2 separate regions of the Homo sapiens genome follow, and region 1 is linked to region 2. The links are contacts of gene promoters, found by promoter capture Hi-C in human tissues and cell types (Jung and others, 2019). All regions are on one chromosome and are shown on one strand. The core of a region is centred on a gene start or on the middle of the fragment in contact, and the rest is flanking DNA. Distances in the headings are between cores, read along the strand shown.

What was found. Contacts are between HindIII fragments. The study calls those that stand out against the background at their distance.
Region 1: a contact is called between a fragment that was not itself captured here and the fragment with the promoter of LCA5L in region 2, in 2 of the 25 tissues and cell types used here (hippocampus and pancreas).

The regions. Positions count from the first base shown.
Region 1 is chr21:39,518,856-39,522,677 of GRCh38, forward strand. No RefSeq gene overlaps it. Among named protein-coding and RNA genes, the nearest start is that of SH3BGR, 69 kb to the left of the region's middle. The HindIII fragment of the contact is 5,481 bases long and covers 1-3,822 here.
Region 2 is chr21:39,443,987-39,447,734 of GRCh38, forward strand. It overlaps LCA5L (lebercilin LCA5 like), which reads right to left and starts at 1,792. Exons shown (of 11, transcript NM_152505.4): 1 at 1,739-1,792; 2 at 149-215. The region is part of intron 8 of GET1-SH3BGR (GET1-SH3BGR readthrough); the gene reads left to right. It overlaps MIR6508 (microRNA 6508), which reads left to right and starts at 3,024; the gene lies at 3,024-3,083. It also overlaps a transcript of SH3BGR not described here. RefSeq lists a silencer at 1,703-1,962. The HindIII fragment of the contact is 9,266 bases long and covers 1-3,748 here.

The DNA of each region.
Region 1 (3,822 bases), core at 542-3,041, 75 kb after region 2:
AAACAGAACTCTGATTATTGAAGGGGTTGATTATCCTTTTCTTTCGCAAGACTTTTAGTTCGAATAGAACATATGTCCAAATATTTGGAAATATATTCACGATCCTAACAAAGGCATTCCTTTCACAGTTGTCTAGGTTACTTGGCTTTTTCACTACTTTGTTTTGGAAGGACTTTCTTGGAAGTAGTAAAACTGAGTTGGGAAATCTTTAAAATGTATCAGTGCATCTGGCTGTTTTCCAAATCAGAAGTCAGGAGATTGTTCAATGATGCGGAAATGTACTCAGGTGTGGAAGATTCCAGTTGGGGAGGGGCTCAGGTGGACAGGTGTGAGTAGCATAGAGGGGGCGTGGAGTGGGGGCTTAACCTGGGGGGCTCCTGGTTCCAGTCCGGCATTCTGTAGATTTAGCACCCGGATCTTGTCAGGGGAGGTGAGAGAAACCTCCGAGGCAGACTCCCATGAATCAAGCTCACAGTCTAGGCTTACAATCAGGGTGTGGGCTTTCCTATTATTTTTATTCACTAACACTAACGGAGTGCCTGCTATGAGCCGGGCTCTGTATTAAAGGCTTCGTGTGTTGCCACAGTAACCCGATGAGGTGGATACCATCTTTATCTGGCAAGGAGGAAACTGAGGCACCGGGTTTCAATTCAGTACTTCGGCAATGGCTGAACCGAAGCTGAGATATACCTGTGTCCCACTCCAAAGCCACGAACAGCCTTCCCAACAAGCCCTTTCCTCTCGGTCCTGGACCACAGTACGGTTCCTCTACGGTGCCTGGCTGGCCGTGGGCAGTGTGCGCCTTGGCCCCAGAGCGCCTCCTCCGCCTGGCTTTGGTCCTCGCATTCTGTCTTCAGACTCGATGCCGTTCGGGCCCTGGTGCAAGGTGCCTTGCCCTTCTCACTTACTATCCACCTATTTTGTTTTCTTAGTTGCACCATCAGAGGTCTATTCCATTACCTTCATCTTCCAGTTCTTTGGGCCGCTAGCTGTGGCCGCCACCACCAGCGCCAGTTACAGAGGGAACTGGGTCACTGTCCACCCACAGGGTTCTAGAAATTGGTCAGTGGCCTCAGATCCGAAGTTTCAGGTTGCAGAGAGAAAATACTAAAACTGCCACCTGCCTTTTCCAGCCTGGTTGTCCTTGGATATATCTTGCCCACTGATGCGGAAGGACACACACACACCAATAACTCATTTGGTTCTGAGCTATCAACTGCCACGCAGTGATGTGCCAGAGTTGCAACCAGCCCCACATGGTATTTTTAGCTGAGAGAACAACTCCTTCTAGTTGAGGATGGTTTAATGAGTGCGTCTTAATCCCATGACATGAATTTTAGTTCGTTTTGTAGCAGGTCAGGTTTCTCTGTAGTCCCTGCTTTTTAAAAAATTATTTTTAATTTTAAATTAAAAATTTTGTGGGTACATAGGTGTATATATTTATGGGTTATATGAGATATTTTGGTACAAGCATGCATTTTGTTTTTTTGGGAAAGTTTTTATTTCTCCTTCATGTTTGAAGGATATTTCCACTGCATGTACTATTCTGGGGTAAGTATTTTCCCTTCAGCACTTCAAATATGCCATGTCACTTTCTCCTGGCTTGTAAGGTTTCTACTGAAAAGTCTGTTGGAGGTCCATTGTACGTTATTTGTTTCTTTTATCTTGCTGCTTTTAAGATCTTTTCTTTATCCTTGACCTTTGGGAATTTGACTATAAATGCCTCGAGGTAGTCTTCTTTGGGTTAAATCTGCTTAGTGTTCTATAACTGCCTTGTACTTGGATATTGATACCTTTCTCTAGGTATGGGAAACTCTGTTACCTTCCCTTTGAATAAACTTTCTGTCCCTACCTTTTTCTCTACCTCCTCTTTAAGGCTAATAACTATTAGGTTTACCCCTTTAGGCTACTTTCTAGATCCTGTAGGATTGCTTCATTGTTCTTTATTCTTTTTTCTTCTCTGTGTATTTTCTTATTTTTGATGCACTTTTTGTTTCAATAATTTTTGGGGTACAGGTAGTTTTTGTTTACATAGATACGTTCTTTAGTGGTGATTTGTGAGATTCTAGTGCACCTGTCACCCAAGCAGTGTACCTAATATGTAGGCTTTTATCCCTCAACCCCCTCCCAAACATCCCCTCAATCCCTTAAATTTCATTATATCATTGTTATGCCTTTGTGTCCTCACAGCTTAGTGCTCCCTTATAAGTGAGAACACATGATATTTGGTTTTTGATTCCCGAGTTACTTCACTTAGAATAATGGCCTCCAGCTCCATCTAAGTTTGCTGCAAATGACATTATTTCATTCCTTTTTATGGATGAGTAGTGTTCCGTGGTTGTATATATACCACATTTTCTTTATCCACTTGTTGGTTGATGGGCACTTAGGTTAGTTCTATATCTTTGCAATTGTGAATTGTGCTGCTATAAACATGCATGCGCATGTGTCCATTTCATACAATAAGTTCTTTTCCTTTGGGTAGATACCCAGTAGTGGGATTGCTGGGTCAAATGGTAGTTCTATGTATGTAGTCTGGAGATTCTTTTAAGAATCTCCATTCAGTTTTCCATAGTGATTGCACTATTTTACATTCCTACTGGTGGTGTAAAAGTGTTCACCATATCTATACCAACATCTATTGTTTTTTGACTTTTTCATTATGGCCATTCTTGCAGCAGTAATGTAGCATCTCATTGTGGTTTTAACTTGCATTTCCCTGCATTCGTGATGTTGAGCATTTTTTTTGTATGTTTGTTGGCTGTTTGTCTTCTTTTGAGAAATGTCTATTCATGTCCTTTCCCACTTTTTGATGGGTTATTTGTTCTTTTCTTGATGATTTGTTTGAGTTCCTTCACCAGTTATACTAGGTATGGCCATTTTACATAATCCCATATTTCTTGGAGATTTTGTTCATTTATTTTGATTCTGATTGGGTTAATTCAAAAGCCTTGTCTTCAGGCTCTGAAATTCTTTCTTCTACTTGTTCTAGTCTATTCTTAAAACTTTTCACTGCATTTTGTATTTCCCTAAGTGTGTCTTTAATTTCCAGGAGTTCTAATTGGTTTTTCTTTATGATACCCATCTTTCTGGAAAATTTTTCATTCATATCCTGAATTTTAAAAAATTCCTTTATTTTGTTTTTCACCTTTCTCTGGTATCTCCTTGAGTAGCTTAATAATCAATCTTCTGAATTCTGTGTCTGCTATTTCAAGGATTTTAGATTGGTTTGAATTCATTGCTAGGGAGCTAGTGTGATCTTTTGGGGTGTTATTGAACCCTATTCTGTCATATTACCAGAATTAATTCTCTGGTTCTTTCTCATTTGGGTAGACTATTTTTTCAAATTGTTCTTGAATGTATTTGACTGTATTTTTTTCTTTAATTTCTTTTTTTTTTTCTCTTAAGGGTCTGACTTCAATGTTTATAGTTTATTATAGCCTAATTTGATTCTTGGTGATTTTAGGGGGGAAGACTCCGTATGAGTTCCTTAGTTATAGAGAGTCTTTGTGTGCTGGCTTTCCCAGATGTTGGCTGTAGTATTTATGTACTTGGTGTATGGGCAAGTTCACTGTCTCCTACATGGTTGGAATAGCAAGGATCTCTTGAAGCTTATCTCATTCTCCCATTGTGAACAGTTTTTAAATGTATTTGATTTTTCCCCAGCATTTTATTTACTGAGTTGATGATTTAGGCTTCAGGCCAGTAGAGGAGGTAACCCTGGGTAGACACCAGTTGTAGCTAAAACAGGTAGGTAGCTGTAATACCCAGTGGTGGGCGCAGGTTCCAGCCTTGATGAAGGTGTCTGAGGGAGCTCTCAAT
Region 2 (3,748 bases), core at 542-3,041:
GCCACTGCACTCCAGCCTGGCCGACAGAGTAAGGCTCTGTCTTAAAAAAAAAAAAAACAACAAAAAAAGAGAGATTGGCTAGGGGCCTTAGCTCCTTGAGGGCAGGGACCTGTCACATTGATCGCGGTATCAGCACCCAGGTACTTACTATTCAAAATGATCAGCATACGGATGATCATTTGTCTGCATCTCAGTTTGCCTCTTTTGGTGCTTCTCTAAAAAATAAAAAAGGAAGAGCTTAAACTCCTACATGATTCCTGTCTTTGCGCTGGGAAGAAGGCTCTGGGTTCTTTTGTTCTTCAGGACAGTCCCTTGTAAAGCTCTTGCCATAGTTCTGTTCCAGGGGCACTGTCATATTTATACCTAACAAAGCTAAGGGGTGTCTTTACATTTTTAGCTTGTTAGCAGGATGCTTATATGGCCTTGCTGACCCGGTTTAAAAGTTGCAATTTGCAAAATACATACTGAAAATACTGCACTTTTACCTATGGAAGTTGTAATTTATATAAGGAAATTGTAATTTATATAATCCTTTAAAAAACTTACTCATACGAAATAACAGAGAACGGGGAAATACCATTAAGACTGTCATGCTCAAGTGGGGGAGGGGCAGACTCAGGGAAACCAATTAGGAAGCAAGTAAAATAATCCACGCACCAGATGATGGGGGCCTGGACCAAGGTGGTGACAGTGGCGGTTGAGAGAAATGGTAGAATTGTGAATCTATTCTGGGTGCATTTTGAAGGCAGTGCTGACAGACTGAAGGTGAGGAAGAGAAAAACAGGACTCAAACAGGATGCAAGACTCGGGCAACTGGAGGATGGAATTTCCAGCAACTATGATGGATTAAGATTGTGGGAGGACAGGCTTGGCTTGGGGAATTATTGAGCGCTATCTTGGACGAGCTGTGTTTGAGATGCCGTAGACATCCAAGTAGGGATGTGGCAGGCAGCTAAATGCAGGGATCTGGTGTTCAGGGGAGGGGCGAGGGCTGGGAATGCACACTTGGGGCTCACTGGAATTCAGATAGGCTCTGAGTACAGGCGACTGGATGAGTTCATCTAGGGATTGAGTGTAGACAGAAAAAAGGCTCAAGCTCACATTCAGCCGTGAAAACTGGTCTCTGAAAAAAGTTAACCGTTGGCTTAAGTGTGGCAACGAAACGTTAACACGCTGAGGGGAGGGTGTGGATAAAGAGCCCCGAGGCTGGGTGAGTGGGGGACAAACACAGACAGAGAAGACATTTCAAAAGATTTAGATTCCTACGAGATAGGGAGATGCCAGCGCTAAGGTTAGAAAGAAAAACTAATCCAAAGCAAAACAGCAAGTAAGCAGAGGCAAAATCGGAGGTCAGATAGAAGATTCAGATAGAAAAACCCCAAAGTTCCCTCGGTGGGGCGGCGGTGAGATCGGCCTCCGCCCCCTCGCCAGACCCAGGCGCGGCCCCGGGAGCGCTAGGTCACCTCGGCCCAGGCCGTCCCCCTGCCCAGCGGGCCTGAGAGTACGTGTGTCGCCGGGGCGCCCGGTCACTGCCGAGCCGGGGTAGCTGTTCCTTGGCAAACTGTGCCGCGAGGAGGAAACGGCGGGGCGCCAGCGAGGCAGGCAGGGGCGAGGACTGAGTGACCGGCGATACTGGAAGCCCAGAAAGAGCGTAGCAGGAGGGTCCGGAAGGGCCCAGAGCTGGGGCTGTAACAGGGTAACCGGCTGAGGGGGACGACGGCAGCAGCGGGGCCGTTACCTGCTCCGCGCTGTTCCCACGACTGCGCCAACGCCGCAGCGCCGGCGCGTCCCCATGGAAACCCGCGCGCGGGGCCTCCTGGGAAGCGCCGGCCTGCGGGGGCTGGGCGCGCGCATGCGCACTCGGGCAGCAGGAGCCGCGGCGGGGAGGGGCGTCTTGGGCCTGGAGGTCAGTGTGGCCTCGCGTTTGTCTTCGGTGACGGGAAGTGAGTTTCTTGTGTAGACGTCTGTAAACGATCCTCCTGCCGTCCCTGTTCGGCGCCCGGGACCCTGCCTTCCCGCGTGGCCGCACCGAGACGAGGGAGCCTGTCACGCGCTCTGGCGCTCTCCTGACCTCTTAAGGCTCTGTCAGTCTTAGGTAACTTGAGTCAGTAGGTGGGTGTAGACGCCTGGTCAATTCCTGGGAAGCACAGTTCCCCTATTAACCCCTTGTCATAAAGACGATTTTTTTTTTTTTTTTGTAAAACAAAATCTGATGACAAAACAATGCATGTTTGGCATAGAGAATTTAGAAATGTACAGGCAAGTCCAAAGCAAAAGTCAAAATCACCTAGATGATGGAGTTATAGATGTTTTTTAATGACAGCATAGGAATTTGGCATAATTTAGGAAGACTTACATTGTTTCCTTTTATTTATTTACTTTTTTTCCTGCATCAAAGCCATGTTGAATATCCTTGCAGATGAATCTTTGAGGTCACCCCTGACTGTTTCCTTAGGATAAATTCCTACAAGCGAGGTTGCAGGGCCAAAGCATATGCTCACTTTGAGGCTTTCTAAAGGTAGAGGGAAACTGCCTTCCAGTAAGTGTCCCGATACTTGGCCCGCATTGGAAATTCTCTTTTTTCTTAAAATTTTTTTGCCCATTTTATTGTCAAAAATTGGCATCTTTAATTGTATTCACTTCCTTTTTAGTAGGAAGAATAGACTTTTTCCCATATCTTGAGTGCCATTTGTCCTTATTGTGTGATTTGCATTTTCCTGTCTTTTGTCCATTTTAAAACTTGACATTCATCTTTGTAAAAATGGGTTTTGTAAGGACTTTTGATGCTTGAAAACTTGGCTTGTGATATACGTTGCAAATATTTCCTCAATTTGTCAGTTACCTTTAATTTTGTTTACAGTGTATTTTGGTATTTGTGTAGAGTCAAGCTTATTACATTTCTCTATAGTTTCTGCATTTGGTTTTTATATAAAAGGAGAAACGGGTGTTTTTTTTCAAATTGACTTTAATCCTACTTTGGTAGAAGTGGGTTAGGACAAGCTTTCTCTCCATATCACCATTTCTTCCTCTAGAAATGCATGACCCACCCTGAGTTTTGGTGGGCCATGCATTTCTAGAACTCCTTAGGTAGGGAATTATCCGTATAAGATGGGTGCCGGTTGTTTTTGCTGGTGGTGGTGGGCGGGGCAACATCTCCAGGTAGGCAAACATTAGACAAATGTCACTCTAGACTTGACATTATGGAAAGATGGGCTGATGCTTGGTGGGTGGTGGTGGCCCCATGACAGTAACGAGAGCGGAGTTTTGCCATTGCGGGAGCATCCAACCCTGGAGCTCATGACTGGAGGAATTGAAAGGTAGAGTTTCCTGAGAATGGTTTCCTCCTCTTTTCTACCAGCTTTTCCCAGTCTGTAGACATGATAAGTCACTGCAAATCTGCCCTTGAATCTTTCTTTGCTTTCGCTTTTGCTTTTTTTTTTTTTTTTTTTTGAGACGTATCACTCTATCGCTCAGGCTGGAATGCAGTGGCGCCATCCCAGCTCACCACAACCTCCGCTTCCTGGGTTCAGGTGATTCTCCTGCATCAGCCTCCTGAGTAGCTGGGATTACAGGTGTGAGTCACAACACCCGGCTAATTCTTTTTGTATTTTTAGTAGAGATGGGGTTTTGCGATGTTGGCTAGGCTGGCCTTGAACTCCTGACCTCAAGTGATCTGCCCGCCTCGGCCTCCCAAAATGTTGGGATTTCAGGCATAAGCCACCGTGCCTGGCCTTTGCTTTTGCTTTCG